Linked DNA regions of Homo sapiens: all the other regions are linked to region 1. Evidence: promoter capture Hi-C in 16 types of primary human blood cells and fetal thymus (Javierre and others, 2016). All regions are on one chromosome and are shown on one strand. Each heading gives the region's core, a stretch centred on a gene start or on the middle of the fragment in contact. The rest is flanking DNA. Distances are from core to core; before and after follow the strand shown. Region 1 holds the start of KCNJ11 (potassium inwardly rectifying channel subfamily J member 11). Region 2 overlaps PLEKHA7 (pleckstrin homology domain containing A7). Region 3 has its middle 5.2 kb from the start of C11orf58.

The links. The method cuts DNA at HindIII sites, captures the fragments that hold promoters and counts their contacts. A CHiCAGO score of 5 or more calls a contact.
Region 2: a contact is called between a fragment that was not itself captured here and the fragment with the promoter of KCNJ11 in region 1, in 1 of 17 cell types (naive CD4 T cells). The highest score is 5.5, in naive CD4 T cells.
Region 3: a fragment that was not itself captured here is called in contact with the fragment with the promoter of KCNJ11 in region 1 in 2 of 17 cell types (activated CD4 T cells and naive CD8 T cells); the score reaches 6.5 in activated CD4 T cells.

The regions. Positions count from the first base shown.
Region 1 is chr11:17,387,409-17,392,264 of GRCh38, forward strand. It overlaps KCNJ11 (potassium inwardly rectifying channel subfamily J member 11), which reads right to left and starts at 1,251. Exons shown (of 1, transcript NM_000525.4): 1 at 1-1,251. The coding sequence starts at 683. RefSeq lists an enhancer at 1-433 and silencers at 1,642-2,151, 2,232-2,331. The HindIII fragment of the contact is 14,360 bases long and covers 1-4,584 here.
Region 2 is chr11:16,784,532-16,789,341 of GRCh38, forward strand. PLEKHA7 (pleckstrin homology domain containing A7) reads right to left here. Exons shown (of 27, transcript NM_001329630.2): 23 at 4,565-4,765; 24 at 1,698-1,856. Among named protein-coding and RNA genes, the nearest start is that of C11orf58, 48 kb to the left of the region's middle. The HindIII fragment of the contact is 2,382 bases long and covers 172-2,553 here.
Region 3 is chr11:16,730,870-16,735,957 of GRCh38, forward strand. It overlaps a transcript of SOX6 not described here. Among named protein-coding and RNA genes, the nearest start is that of C11orf58, 5.2 kb to the right of the region's middle. The HindIII fragment of the contact is 239 bases long and covers 3,682-3,920 here.

The DNA of each region.
Region 1 (4,856 bases), core at 1-2,500:
CCCTCGGGGCTGGTGGTCTTGCGTACCACCTGCATGTGGATGGTGGCGCTGATGATCATGCTCTTGCGGAGGTCACCCACACGTAGCATGAAGCAGAGGCGGCCGTGGCGCAGGGCGATCACCGCATGCTTGCTGAAGATGAGGGTCTCAGCCCTGCGGTGGGCTTGGGCAGTCTTCATGAAGATGCAGCCAAGCATGATGGCGTTGATCATGAGCCCCACGATGTTCTGCACGATGAGGATCAGGATGGCCAGTGGGCACTCCTCAGTCACCATGCGCCCCCCAAAGCCAATAGTCACTTGGACCTCAATGGAGAAAAGGAAGGCAGACGAGAAGGAGTGGATGCTGGTGACACAGGGCTCAGCAGTGCCCTCGCTGGGGGCCAGGTCACCGTGGGCGAAGGCGATGAGCCACCAGGCCATGGCGAAGAGCAGCCAGCTGCACAGGAAGGACATGGTGAAGATGAGCAATGTGTGTGGCCACTTGAGGTCCACCAGCGTGGTGAACACGTCCTGCAGGAAGCGGCCCTGCTCCCGGATGTTCTTGTGGGCCACGTTGCAGTTGCCTTTCTTGGACACAAAGCGGGCCCTCCGCTGGCGGGCACGGTACCTGGGCTTGGCAGGGTCCTCTGCCAGGCGTGTCAGCACGTATTCCTCGGGGATGATGCCCTTGCGGGACAGCATGGCTCCGGTGACCCCCAGGGAGGGGCTTCCCCCATCGGAGGCACCCCTCGGACGTGGCCTAGGGCCTCACTGCAGAGTCCTCTCGGTGGGCACCTTCTCACCCTGGGGCTGCACTCAGCCTGTGCTGGCCTCACTTCTGAGATAACTCCCCACCAGACTCTTCCTTACCTCCACCTGGGTCCCACTTCACTTCTTAATACCAGCCTCAGGCCGGGCGCGGTGGCTCACGCCTGTAATCCCAGTACGTTGGGAGGCTGAGGAGGGCAGATCACTAGGTCAGGAGTTCGAGACCAGCCTGACCAACATGGTGAAACCCCATCTCTACTAAAAATACAAAAGTTAGCCGGGCATGGTGGTGCGCACCTGTAATCCCAGCTACTCAGGAAGCTGAGGCAGGAGAATCGCTTGAACCCGAGAGGCGGAGGTTGCAGTGAGCCAAGATCACGCCACTGCACTCCAGCCTGGGCGACAGAGCGAGACTCCGTCTCAAAAACAAAAAACAAAACAAAAAAAACAGCCTCACCCTTGAGCCCACCTGCCTGGCGCCTAGGGAGCCCCCAACCCTGCCGGCTCTCCACCTGGCCCTGCGTCCTCCCCCAGCTTCCCCCACCAGCTGACCACCCCTGGGCCTCCCGCTAAGAGCCCTTCTCCCCGCCCAGCCTGCCTTCCCAGCCCAGCTCAGAACTTAACACCTCCGGATCTCTCCCACTAACCGGACCTCACCCCCACCTCCGGGTCTCCCGCCTCACCTGTCTGGCCTTCGGGCTCCCAGGCTCCAGCTCAGGTCCTGGCCACCCCCGCCCCGTCTCTCCTCCAGGTGCGCCCCCTATGTCCTACTCCACCCCTCCCGGAGCGCCCCCGCCGCTTTCCGGATCCCCCTCCAGCTCTCGTCCTCTCTGTCTCCTTGGGATCCTGCGTTCTCTGGAGTCACCACCCCACCCGGCTCAACCGCGGCTCCCCGGACCTGCGCGCGACCCGGCGGGGCTGACTCCGAGTCGCGGCCTCCCGGTCCCTGCCGCCCGCCCGCGCCGCGGCTCCCGCTCCGCGCCGGGTCCCGGCCCCGCCCGCCGCCGCCGCTGCACCTGCTCCTGCTCCTCACGCCACGGCCGTCGCCTCCCCGCCCCCTCCCGCCGCCCGGGCGCTCGCGGCTGGCCGTCCTCCCGTCTGTCTGTCCGTCCGTGGGTCCGCGGAGACCGACCTGGGCTAGGCAGGGGTCTAGGACGGCGGGAGGGGGGCGCACGAGGAGAGGAACGGGGCCGGGGACCGCCAGGGGGAGCCCGACCTGCACCGGAGCGCAGGGGGCGGGGCCGGAGCAAGCCCCCGCCCCTCCCGCGCCCCTCCCCGCCCCCGCCCTCCACCTCCCCTCCCGGGACTCACAACCCGGCCTTTGGAGTTTTTCTGATCCGCGGAACCCAGAGGTTCCTCCTGCCCACGCTCTACGAAAGTGGGGGGCTGGGAGGGATCTGTGACCCGCCCTCCCAGTCTGGGGCCGCCGCCCTGTCGCCCTGGCTCCCCTCCCCCAATATCCCCATCCGTATTTGGGTCAGTAATCCGCCTCTCGGCCGCGCCAGGTTTGCAGGTTCCCCGGGAAAGGAGGCGCTGAGAGGCGGCGCCACCAATCCCAGGGCTGGCGGAAATTAGGCGGTCCGAGGACTTCTCAACCTGCAGCTGCTTCTCTTTGGGGGATGCTCTTAATCTTAGTCTTGAATCCTTTGACAATCTGATGGAAGCTCAGACTCCCTCTCATTAAAAAAAAAAAAAAAAAAAAAAAAAAAAAAGGCCTCGGCAGGAAAGGAGCACAGTTTAACACCTGCTACTGCTGTGGGGCAGCCTGGGCGGCTCCATCTTCTCAGCCATTCCGGCCCTACTTTAAAGAAGGTTTGAGCCGAGGCCACTTGCTTTACACTTTCTCACACCTGTCACCTGACTTCTTCCACGTTAGGTCATGGGTGGTATTTAGGCCTGAACAGTGTGTTAGGGCTGCCTCGGGCACTGGGGGACCCAGGCTCTTGGTCCCGGCATGGTGGTGTTTCTGTTCAGGCATCAGCCTGAGGCTGCCCTGTGGCATGGACCCGGGTTCTCAGCTGGGAGGGAAAGCCTGCTAGATCTCTGTTGTTGGAACAGTAACGGCTTTACCGCTGTCTGTGGCTCAGATCCTTATGGAAGAACCCCTGACCATCTGCGGCCATTTTGTTGGAGTGGGGGCTTGAGACAGGGTCTGGAAAAGGCAGTGTGGCTGTGGGCCACAGTGGGGGCAAGATATGCATTTTATATTGGATTTTCCTTTCTCTCCCTACCCACCTGCAGGCAGAGCGAACACCGCTACAAAGGATGGGTGTGATCATGGGCTATATTAACAAAGATGCAGTGTCTAGGAAGGGGAGGGTAAAATGAGATGAGCAGAGTGGGAAGCTCAAGGAGACAGGGTTACATGGGGAAATCTCTGAGGCAACTACAACTGTCCAGCCATCAGAAAAGGAAAGTCCCCCAGGGATTTGGGCACTATTGCAGAAACACCTGGCCTTGAAGGAGGATGAACTAGTAGTTTTTTGTGGCCCAAAGGGTAGAACCAGGACACTAAGTGGAACAGAGGCAGGCTTTGGTTTCACATATGCAAGAGTCAGTTCTAATAACAATAACCAGAGATGAGCCACATCTGTGGGGTACCCAAATCAAGTCGGTGGGCCATGAGGGATGTTATACAGGGATTTTGGGCCAGGATGACCTTGGGCATCCCTGCAACACCTCACTGTGGGCCCAGCCCTGCCCCTGCTACTTCCCTTCAATCTGTTGAGGTGGGGTGGCTTTGGAGCAGTGGTAGGCTTGTGGAGTCCTCTTTCAGTTCCCCGGCTCTGCTCTTGGGAGATCTCACAGTGGAGGAAGCTGCTGGGCCCCTGGGGAAATCTCAGAGCTGGAAAGGCTGGGTTCTGCCTCCTGGTGCAGCCTTGAGGCCTTACCTCCCTCCCTGCTGCTCACCCTTCTGAGAGGCTGAGTCTCCCACCTGAAAGGCTCAGCCTCCCCTTTTGCTCCATCCTGCACTTGCTTATAGTCATCTCCACCAAATACTGAACTTGTCAAGTCGCTTTCTTGCTCAAAACCCTTCTCCCTTTTTGTCCATGGGCATAGCCCACACTCCTTGCTCTGGCATTCAGGGCTCTCTGATATGATGCCCTCCCCACTGCTGTAATCTCTCTCCCACCTCCCTGATCAACCAACACTCTTAACACACTTCCACCATCACTCCTTAGCTCCTGCTGTCCCTACCTGCCACCCCAACCCTTTCTCTGACTTTCTGCCTAACCAATCCCTATCCCCCACAATATTTAACTCAAATTTTGTCTTTTCCAGGCAGGCTGCCAGGCTTTACAGAGCTCTTCCTTTCCGAGCTTCTCTGGCTCCTGGAACATCCACAGGGGTCTGCACTGGACCTGCCTCCGATAACTGGTGGGCTTTTCTTATGTTGTGCCTCTATGATCCCCTTGCAGCCAAGAGGATGCAGGTTCAAGACTCTTAGGTCTGCACCTCAGGGCTTGGTGCAGCCAGTACTGCAGATGATATGCAAATGATCATAAAATGAGATGTAAATGAGCACCTGCCATTTCTTGGCCAAGGGCAGGTGTGCACTCTTGTTTCGTGATGCAGAGGAAGTCAGGACAGCTGCTGTTTTAGTCTCCCTGGTGTCTGGGCTCCAGCGTCTCCCAGACACCACCTGGCTGACCTGTGACTCATGCACTGTGCTTTCCCTCTGAAGGACCACCTTTCCACTTCTGAATGCCCCTGCTTGAGGGATGGAGATGGAGACATGATCCAGGCCTAGCCAGCCAGTGTATGCCACCCCTCTGATCACAGTGGGGTGGGGATGGGAATGTGATCCAAGTTGGTGCATTGAGATTTGCTCCCAAGCTTTTGCTGGAACTATTGGGAAGGAGTATCTGTTTTGCCTCTTGGGTTGCCTTGGGGCAGGATGTAAGCTGGACCTGCTAGTGGCCATCTGTCATAATGAAAGGGGAGGAAAATGGAACCCAGAAAGGAAGACACATCCCAGATGGATGTCAAACACCTGGGTCCAGCCATGCTTGAAGTAGTATACCTCTTAGCCTTGTCAGTCACATATTCAATAAATTCAGTTTCTGCTTAGGTTACTTTGAATTGGGTTCCTGTCATTTGCAATTG
Region 2 (4,810 bases), core at 113-2,612, 600 kb before region 1:
CCCAAATTTCACCTCACCAGCATCTCCCGTGGACCTAGTGGCAAACTCGGCTTGGTGAAACCTTGCTTGGACTAAGAACACGAAAGGAAGCTTCTGCATGCTCCAGGAACTTTTTCCTCCCTGAATTACAAAAGCACACTAAAATGGGGTGGGTTGAAGCTCCTAAAAACAAGCTTAATCCAATCCCAGGGCAAATCAGGTCATGGATTTAAACCCACACGCAGCCCTTTCACTCTGTTGGAGATGGCAAGAAATAAGCTCTTCTCTGTTACTCCAATGAGGACAGATTTAGAGGAAGGAAGCAGATTACATTGTAGCAGGAGGAATTTAGGTTAGAGATAAGGAAGAACTTTTTCCCTGGGCTGGCAGGCAATCAGGACACTACAGAACACACTTCCCCTGCCAAGGCAGCATGTTGGGGCTTCTTTTGTGAATCTGAGAACGCACAGACCTTTGGCTGTTTCAGATGGCAAAGGAACAAGGTCTTGGGGCAGGGGACCAGCCTTGTTAACTCCTAGAGCCCCAGCAGACCCCAAAACTCAACAACTGTACAGGCATCTATCTTATCCACACACTGTTCCTTTGTTCCCAAAGACCAGAGGAACCCCTAACATACTGAGTCAGGTAGATACCATTGGCAAATCAGCTTGTGAATGGGCCTGGCACCACCTCTTAAGACAGCAGGAAGGCTCTGGAAGACACAGGTCCTCCTCAGTTCTCACTCTCCTATCACACAGACCTGGGGGAAAGTTTTATTGAGGTCTCGCCTCGATCCATCCTTCATGTGGTGAGAACATTTCCTCTTGTGCAGTTTCCAGGCAGGCCAAGTCCTTGTACAAATGCTTTTGGTACATTTATGGGTCACTGTGTGATTCATTCAACACAGTCAAAGATGCAGCAAAGATGTACCACGTACCCACTGTGTGCCAGGCCCTGTGCCAGGGACTAGGGATACAAAGGTGAACCAAGCAGCCATAGACGCTGCCCTGAAGAGCTTAGGAATAGCATCGACATAGGCCACAGGAGACAATCTACGTCTTGAAGACACTGAGTGTGTCATCCCGAGTTCCCTTTCTCTCCCCTTGGGTAGAGACATTTCCTGATGGGTAGAGATCCAGGAGTTACTTGCTCTCCTGGGCCTGCCCTGTCATGATGCATGTGAGCCACCAGAGGGCACCAGAAGAATTCAGACCAGAACTCTGCACTGTCTCCTAGCTTCTACCATGGCTGGAAATTTCGCCTGTGATTTTCAAACCTGCCCCCCATTTTCCCCTAGTCAGACTGCCCAAGTTGGCCTCACCAGCCAGTTGAAAAGCCAACCCCTGGTGTTGCAGGGAACATTTCCTAACAATAACAACTGCTGCTCACGTGCCTACTATGTGGCTTTGATCGCTAAACCTCCCAAGAACATGTGCAGTTACTTAATCCTCTTCACAACCCACTTCACTGTTGAGGAAACTGAAGCACAGAGAAGCTAAAATTGCAATTTGCCCTAAATTACAGAGAGTTTTGAACCTTCATCGAAACATCTGGCCTCCTTTCATTGCCTTAAGCTGCTATCCATCCATCCTCCTAGGCCACACTGAAGCTGAGCCATGTCCCTGTTCAGGATGATACCCCACAGTGGGAAGGTGGATCAGGCTGGGAACTTGAAGGCCATGTCTCCTGGAGGACATGAAGGAAGTGCCTGCCCTCACCTCTCTGCTGATGTCCAAGTCATAGTCTTGAGGCTCCAGGTCCAACTCAGTGACAGGCATGGCCTGCACTTTCAACCAGCCATTCTCCTCCTTGTCCTTTTTTTCCCCTTGCACGACCCGTTCCAGCAACTGCAGGTCAAAGTCCTGCTCACGCTTCCACTGGCAACAGAACAAGAGGTTAAACGTAGTCGCTTCCTGATTGCTGAAAGAGCCCGGCTGGTCACCTTTTTCCATGGGGTCCTTTGGAAGATGAACCTGTGATCCCCTTAGGGAAAAGCTGTATGTGCAATAGAGAATGAAGCTGCTGTCCCCTTCATATGGGCTGTTCCAGACTGCTAAGTGCTCTCTGATCTGGGTTCCCAGAGGTTTCAAACATACACCCTTGGGGCACAGGTCTAAGACTCATGACTTCAGGCTCACAGTGGTCCCCAGGGAAATAGAAGGCTCCCAGAGAGGGTGACCTCCAAACAACTTGGGACAGAGTTCTAGAGAAGGGATTTGTCCCTTCCACTCTCTACAGCTGGTTCAGGAGACATACGTCCCAGGCTCAGAATTAATGGAAAAACACGCCCTTCAAGGCCCTGCTAAGCAAGAAGAATAACCAAGGATCTTTCTATTGGGAATTTTCAACAAGATAACATTCGTAGGTGGGGGATCTCGCACTTACAGTAGGGCTGGGGAGGTACAAGCAAAAGCAGCTTGGAGCCAATGAGGCAGAAAAACTGCTGTATGAGACCCATCTATTTGAGATAGATGTTTTCTTTAAATTAGAAAAAAAAACTAAATCATATAAAATTGAAATGCTAAATCAAATGGAATGTTTCTAAGGCTGTTTCACAGTATCAACTTTGTAACAAGCTTCCCAAGAGGGAAAATCTAACCGATAAGATCCAACCATGACTGTCCAGCTCCGTGGTGACTTCCTGTTGACCCAGGACCTGCATCCTCACAGGCCTTTGACCGCTGAGCAGGTTGTTGAGAACAGAGCAGGCTCAAAGCCTCTCTTCCCCTGAGCAAAACCAAAGCAGATGCTTATCTATCCCAGGCCATCTTCTCTCTCCCATCCATCCACCTCAAAGCCCCAAATGGTCCTGATTGTCTTTGATGCCTCAAGTCCCTCCAGAACCCCAAACCCAGAGCCATATTCGCACATTTCACCCATTCATGCACAAGCTCTCAATGACTCCAAATCAATGTAATCACTCTTAGGTGATGGTTTCCAACTATTGTTGGAAAGGATTAGGCAACTGAAGTTCCAAAGATGAAAAAATCAATTTAATGATTCACAAAGAAAACACTCATTTCCTTACACGCTCACAAATGCTCCAAATAGAGACAAGTCCTCATTTAAACCCAGCCTGATTGTTTCCACAAACAGGAAAAGTTCACTAGACTCTATAAGGTATCCTGGGGAAGAACCACGCCAATCCATTATTATTAAGCAACATGTTTATTGGCGTTGATGCAGAGACTTACACAAGTCTTCTTTTTTAAGAGAAAAATTACAAGGTATTCAAGTTACGATTTTTAGATAATCTCTACATTTGAGACATCAAATTATAAAAGGTCAGTGTTACCCCATATGACATTTGTTTTAAAAGTTTAAAGGTTACCAGGTTTGCAGCTTTTAAAGATATGAATGTCCTGGGCCTTACCCCTTTGGTGTCTGAGCTAGCAGCTGCAGAGAGGCCCTCTGAATACACAGTATATTTTGCTATCCCTTCAAGTTATTAAATACCAGAAACACAAAAGGTTTTCCATAAGAAATTGTGTGATTGGACTACAGGAATTAAAACCGAACAACCTCAGTCTTGGGAGAATGTATTCAAACGTGCAATCTCTGAAGTCCCTGTCTACTGTCCAGGTGTAAAGCATGGATTTTTATAAATTAATAATGCCCAGACCTCTGCCAATGACTGTGGCGTCAGGCAGCAGGTTGGCTCAGGCTTGTGGGGTGGCTTTTGGGACAAGTGAATTATGAGTCAGTAGGCCTGCATGAAGAGGGCAGCAGAAAGGTGAGTCACATCTGGGAACACTCAACAGGCTATGGAGACAAGAACCGCTATTACAAGCCCGGTAATAAGTAGCACAGGCCAGTTAGAGCATGTTCAATGCAAATCAGAAGCTTCTGTAAACACAATCAGGCAGGATTAGAGAGGCAATGAGCGGTAACACTAAAAGCAAAGGAGCTTGTGCAATGAATTAGGGAAAGAACAATCAGGCTAGAGGTTTAGGGAAACATGGGATTTCAAACAACAGGGAAAAGTCAAATGGAATGTTTCCAAAGGGACCTAAGGTGACTGTGGACAGGGCGCAGCGCCAGGAAGCGCCACCAGGGGGCAGCACAGGCCTCCCCAGCAATCCCAGACACCCTGAGGCCTCTGCACTGCAAGCCCAGGGAGACCAGTGGCCCTTGGGGCAGGGGTGTGACCCCGTGCTCCATCACCCTCACACAGCATCTGCTGGCAGGTCTGGGAGGCTGATCAGTTTGCTTGTGCTTCTAACCAAATCATGTCACCATCTTCCTCCTCTCCTCTCTGAACCCTGTATTCCCAGGTCCTGAATTCAGCCGAGATTCCGAACGCCTGCAAAGGCCCCTCTCCATCGCGGCTGGGAGGACTGACTGGGTATTTCCTCAGGCTCCTGGGCCTGTTTGATCCTCACTCCAGCTCTGGTTCAGGTCACCCTCTGACCAGGCATTCGTCCAGCCTGGGTCGTGGACAAACAGCCCCGTGGGGTGTTCTCTGAACCATGTAGGTCAATGGACAGCTCTCTCACTGGGAGGTGTGATGTGCTTGTGTTTGGGGGACTCTGAGGGGCACTCGGCTCCCTGTCCCTGCCCCGCTGCCTGGCCCCTCCTAACATACTGAGCCAAGATCTCCAGGGAGCGGCCGGCTGAGGTAGCGAGATGAGGGCAGGCCCGTCCTCTCCCCTTGGCCCAGTGTCCTCTTGCGCTCTCGGACCAGGGCCTTCTGGTGTCGCTTCATGCGCTCCAGCTGCTCCTCTGCACTCATCTTGCCTCGCTGGTGATCCCCTGAGTACAGGCGCTCCAAGGCACTCTTAGGTCTCTGAGGAAGAGGAGGCAGGCAAGAGAGACACAGAACAGCTGGGCT
Region 3 (5,088 bases), core at 2,551-5,050, 650 kb before region 1:
AAGAGAGAAGAATCGAATAGACACAATAAAAAATGATAAAGGGGATATCACCACTGATCCCACAGAAATACAAACTACCACCAGAGAATACTACAAACACCTCTACATAAATAAACTAGAAAATCTAGAAGAAATGGATAAATTCCTGGACAGCTACATCCTCCCAAGACTAAACCAGGAAGAAGCCGAATCCCTGAATAGATCAATAACAAGTTCTGAAATTGAGGCAGTAATTAATAGCCTACCAACAAAAAGAAGCCCAGGACCAGACAGATTCACAGCCGAATTCTACCAGAGATACAAAGGGGAGCTGGTACCATTCCTTCCGAAACTATTCCAAATAGAAAAAGAGCGACTCCTCCCTAACTCACTTTATGGGTTCAGCATTATCCTGATACCAAAACCTGGCAGAGACACAACAAAAAAAAGAAATTTTCAGGCCAATATCCCTGATGAACATCTATGTGAAAATCCTCAATAAAATACTAGCAAACCAAATCCAGCAGCACATGAAAAAGCTTATTCACCACGATCAAGTCAGCTTCATCCTGGGATGCAAGGCTGGTTCAACATACGCAAATCAATAAATGTAATCCATCGCATACACAGAACCAATGACAAAACCCATGTGATTATCTCAATAGATGCAGAAAAGGCCTTCGATAAAATTCAACACCCTTTCATACTAAAAACTCTCAATAAATTAGATATTGATGGAATGTATCTCAAAATAATAAGAGCTATTTATGACAAACCCACAGCCAGTATCATACTGAATGGGCAAAAACCGGAAGCATTTCCTTTGAAATGCACAAGACAAGGATACCCTCTCTCACCACTCCTATTCAACATAGTATTGGAAGTTCTGGCCAGGGCAATCAGGCAAGAGAAAGAAATAAAGGGTATTCAATTAGGAAATGAGGAAGTCAGATTGTCTCTGTTTGCAGACAACATGATTGCATATTTTGAAAACACCAACATCTCAGCCCAAAATCTCCTTAAGCTGATAAGCAACTTCAGCAAAGTCTCAGAACACAAACTCAATGTACAAAAATCACAAGCATTCCTATACACCAATAATAGACAGAGAGCCAAATCATGAGTGAACTCCCATCCACAATTGCTACAAAGAGAATAAAATACCCAGGAATACAACTTAGAATTGATGTGAAGGACCTCTTCAAGGAGAACTACAAACCACTGCTCAAGGAAATAAGAGAGGACACAAATAAATGGAAAAACATTCCATGCTTATGAATAGGCAGAATCAATATTGTGAAAATGGCCACACTGCCCAAGTTAATTTATAGATTCAATGCTATCCCCATCAAGCTACCATTGACTTTCTTCACAAATTAGAAAAAACTACTTCGTTTCATATGGAAACAAAAAAGAGCCCATATACCCCAGACAATCCTAAGCAAAAAGAACAAAGCTGGAGGCATCACAATACCTCACTTCAAACTAAGCTACAAGGCTACAGTAACCAAAACAGCATGGTACTGGTACCAAAACAGACATATAGACCAACAGAACAGAACAGAGGCTTCTGAAATAATATCACACATCTACAACTATCTGATCTTTGACGAACCTGACACAAACAAGCAACGGGGAAAGGATTCCTTATTTACTAAATGGCTTTGGGAAAACTGGCTAGCCACATGCAGAAAACTGAAACTGGACCCCTTCCTTACACTTTATACAAAAATTAACTCAAGGTGGATTAAAGACTTACATGTAAGACCTAAAACCATAAAAACCCTAGATGAAAACCTAGGCAATACCATACAGAACATAAGCACAGGCAAAGACTTAATGACTAAAACACCAAAAACAATGGCAACAAAAGCCAAAACTGACAAATAGGATCTAATTAAACTAAAGAGCTTCTGCACAGCAAAAGAAACTATCATTGCAGTGAACAGGCAACCTACAGAATGGGAGAAAAATTTTTGCAATCTATCCATCTGACAAAGTGCTAATATCCAGAATCTGCACAGAACTTAAAACAAATTTACAAGAAAAAAACAACCCCATCAAAAAGTGGGTGAAGGATATGAACAGACACTTCTCAAAAGAAGACACTTATGCAGCCAACAAACATGAGAAAAAGCTCACCATCACTAGTCATTAGAGAAATGCAAATCAAAACTACAATCATCTCACACCAGTTAGAAGGGCAATCATTAAAAAGTCAAGAAACAACAGATGCTGGATAGAATGTGGAGAAATAGGAACGCTTTTACACTGTTGGTGAGAATGTGAATTAGTTCAACCATTGTGGAAGACAGTGTGACAATTCCTCAAGGATCTAGAACAAGAAATGCCATTTGGCCCAGAAATCCCATTACTGGGTATACACCCAAAGGATTATAAATCATTGTACTTTAAAGACAGATGCACATGTATGTTTATTGGAGCACTGTTCACAATAGCAAAGACTTGGAACCAACCCAAATACCCATCAATGATAGACTGGATAAAGAAAATGTGGCACATATACACCATGGAATACTATGCAGTCATAAAAAAGGATGAGTTCAGGTCCTTTGCAGGGACATGGATAAAGCTGGAAACCATGAGTCTCAGCAAACCATCACAAGAATAGAAAAACCAAACACGACATGTTCCCACTCATAAGCGGCAGTTGAACAATGAGAACACATGGACACAGGGAGGGGAATATCACATACCGGGGCCTGTTGGGGGTGGGGGGCTAGGGGAGGGATAGCATTATGAGAAATACCTAATGCAGATGATGGGTTGATGGGTGCAGCAAACCATCATGGCACGTATATACCTATGTAACAAACCTTCATGTTCTGCACATGTATCCCAGAACTTAAAGTATAAAAAAAAAAAAAAAAAAAAGGGCCAGGCACGGTGGCTCACGTCTGTAATCCCAGCACTTTGGGAGGCCGAGGCGGGTGGATCACAGGGTCAGGAGAGCGAGACCATCCTGGATAATACGGTGAAACCCCATCTCTACTAAAAATACAAAAAAATTAGCCGGGCATGGTGGCAGGCACCTGTAGTCCCAGCTACTCAGGAGGCTGAGGCAGGAGAATGGCATGAACCTGGAAGGCAGAGCCTGCAGTGACCCAAGATCGTGCCACTGCACTCTAGCCTGGGTGACAGAGCGAGACTTTGTCTCAAAAAAAAAAAAAAAAAAAGAAGATATACATCAACAACAATTTTATTGAAGCAATTTTAAGCAATACATTTTTCATTTCCCTTTTCATTCCTTTTTCATTTAAGTTCCTAGGTATGTGTAAAATAATCAAGTTAATATTTATAGTGCCACATTTTAAATCACAGTAGCACTCTGACAAATCTGCCTGCCCAATGGACAGAATGGGAGTTACCCAATCATCAACCATCATCAACCACAAATATGTATTTATTTATACCTTGTTTTCAAGATTCTGTGTTAGACCCTAGAGTTGCATTTATATTATGCCTTTAAAATCAGCTTCTAAATGGGCTTCATCTCATAGTCCACCACAGTGGAATAATGCATTTTTCACATTTTTTCCCTTTGCTTCAATGACACTAACCTCTCCTTCTTCTAGTTCTATGTCTACCTTCTAACCTCAGGCTCTTCTTCCTCATTCTATCCTTAAATCTTCTCCTTCTTGTTCTTTTCCAAGTATCTCTCTTCTAGGCACTCACTAGGTAAGCTTAGTTACTCTCCTTGTTGACCCACCACCTCTAGATGGGTGATTTCTAAGTTTATTGCTCTCTCCTAACTTTGAAGCCCATATTTTTAACAGTTCCACTTGGTGTCCTACTAATACTTTAACATGTCTAAAATCAAAGTCATCCTACCACATAAACTTGCTCCTCTCTAACCTCACCGATTCATATATTAAAACAACAAATATCTATTGAGTGATAGTTTATATGTCATGGTGCTAAGCTTAGATCCTACCCAAAAGCAGCTGAGAGTCTAGAACAGTCAACAAGACTAGTATCTTTGTTCAATACCTTTATTATAGCACTTATTTTTGTTGTGGTGGGCTAATCAAGATAAGTTAAAGATAATAGTAGAAAATAAGACTGGAATGGATTATTGAGATCAGAATATCGACCTTATTCTGACCTCAAGAACTGAATTCTTATTTTAATTATAGGCTTAATTCTATCAACTTAATTCTGTATAAAATGGGGAGCTCCAAGAAGTTTTTGAGCAGTAGAATCTCTACATTCCATTTTCAGAGGCTGAATCTGCCTAGAATGCATAAAATGAATTTAAATGGAGAAGTATTAGAAAACAGGTCACACAGATCTATGGAAGAGATTATCTTAATCTGAACCCATATAGTGAGAGAGTTAAACTCAAGGCTTTTCACAGCCCGGCTTTGATCAGCCTATAGAATTTTGTCTCAGAATACAATACTTTTAGGCTTATCAGGTTTCAGCACACTGGACACTAACCATCACTGAATATATGCCCCATCCTGCCCAAACTGTTTTTTCAAGGCCTAGCTCAAAAACTTTTGGGAAATAATTTTCCAATTTCCCTCAGCCAAAATGAACTGTTCTACAGCATTTTATTTGTAATTTACTGATGCCATTTAATCATTCTCCTGCCAAGCTGTAAACTCTTTGCAGTAAAGGATTATGCATTATTCACTCTGGTTTTCCTCAAACTTGGCACACTTCCTGACATATATGAAGCATCTTATTTAATGTTGGGTTATATTGGCACAGTGGAAAGTGCACTGGCTTTTGGAATTAGACTTAAGGACTGAATCATTCACTAGCTACATTATTTTAAGCAAGTATTTAACTTTTCTTAAGTTTAATTACCTATAAAATTCCCTACTTCTTGCAAATTATTGTGAAACTTTGAGGTCAATTGTAAAAATCACCTATAAAAAGCACCTAGCAAAGTATATGGTACATGGTGGGTATTTAATAAATGGTAACTGTAATTAAGGCCCTAGGAATTTTTTTTTTTAGTCTCAAGTGAAACAGCAGATTTTTTGTACACAGCATAATCTTCAAAGCCTTTATTTCCTCTTCAGTTTTAACTATGGTCAATCATGACTATCCCTGGTTGAGAGCACGTACTCGACAAAC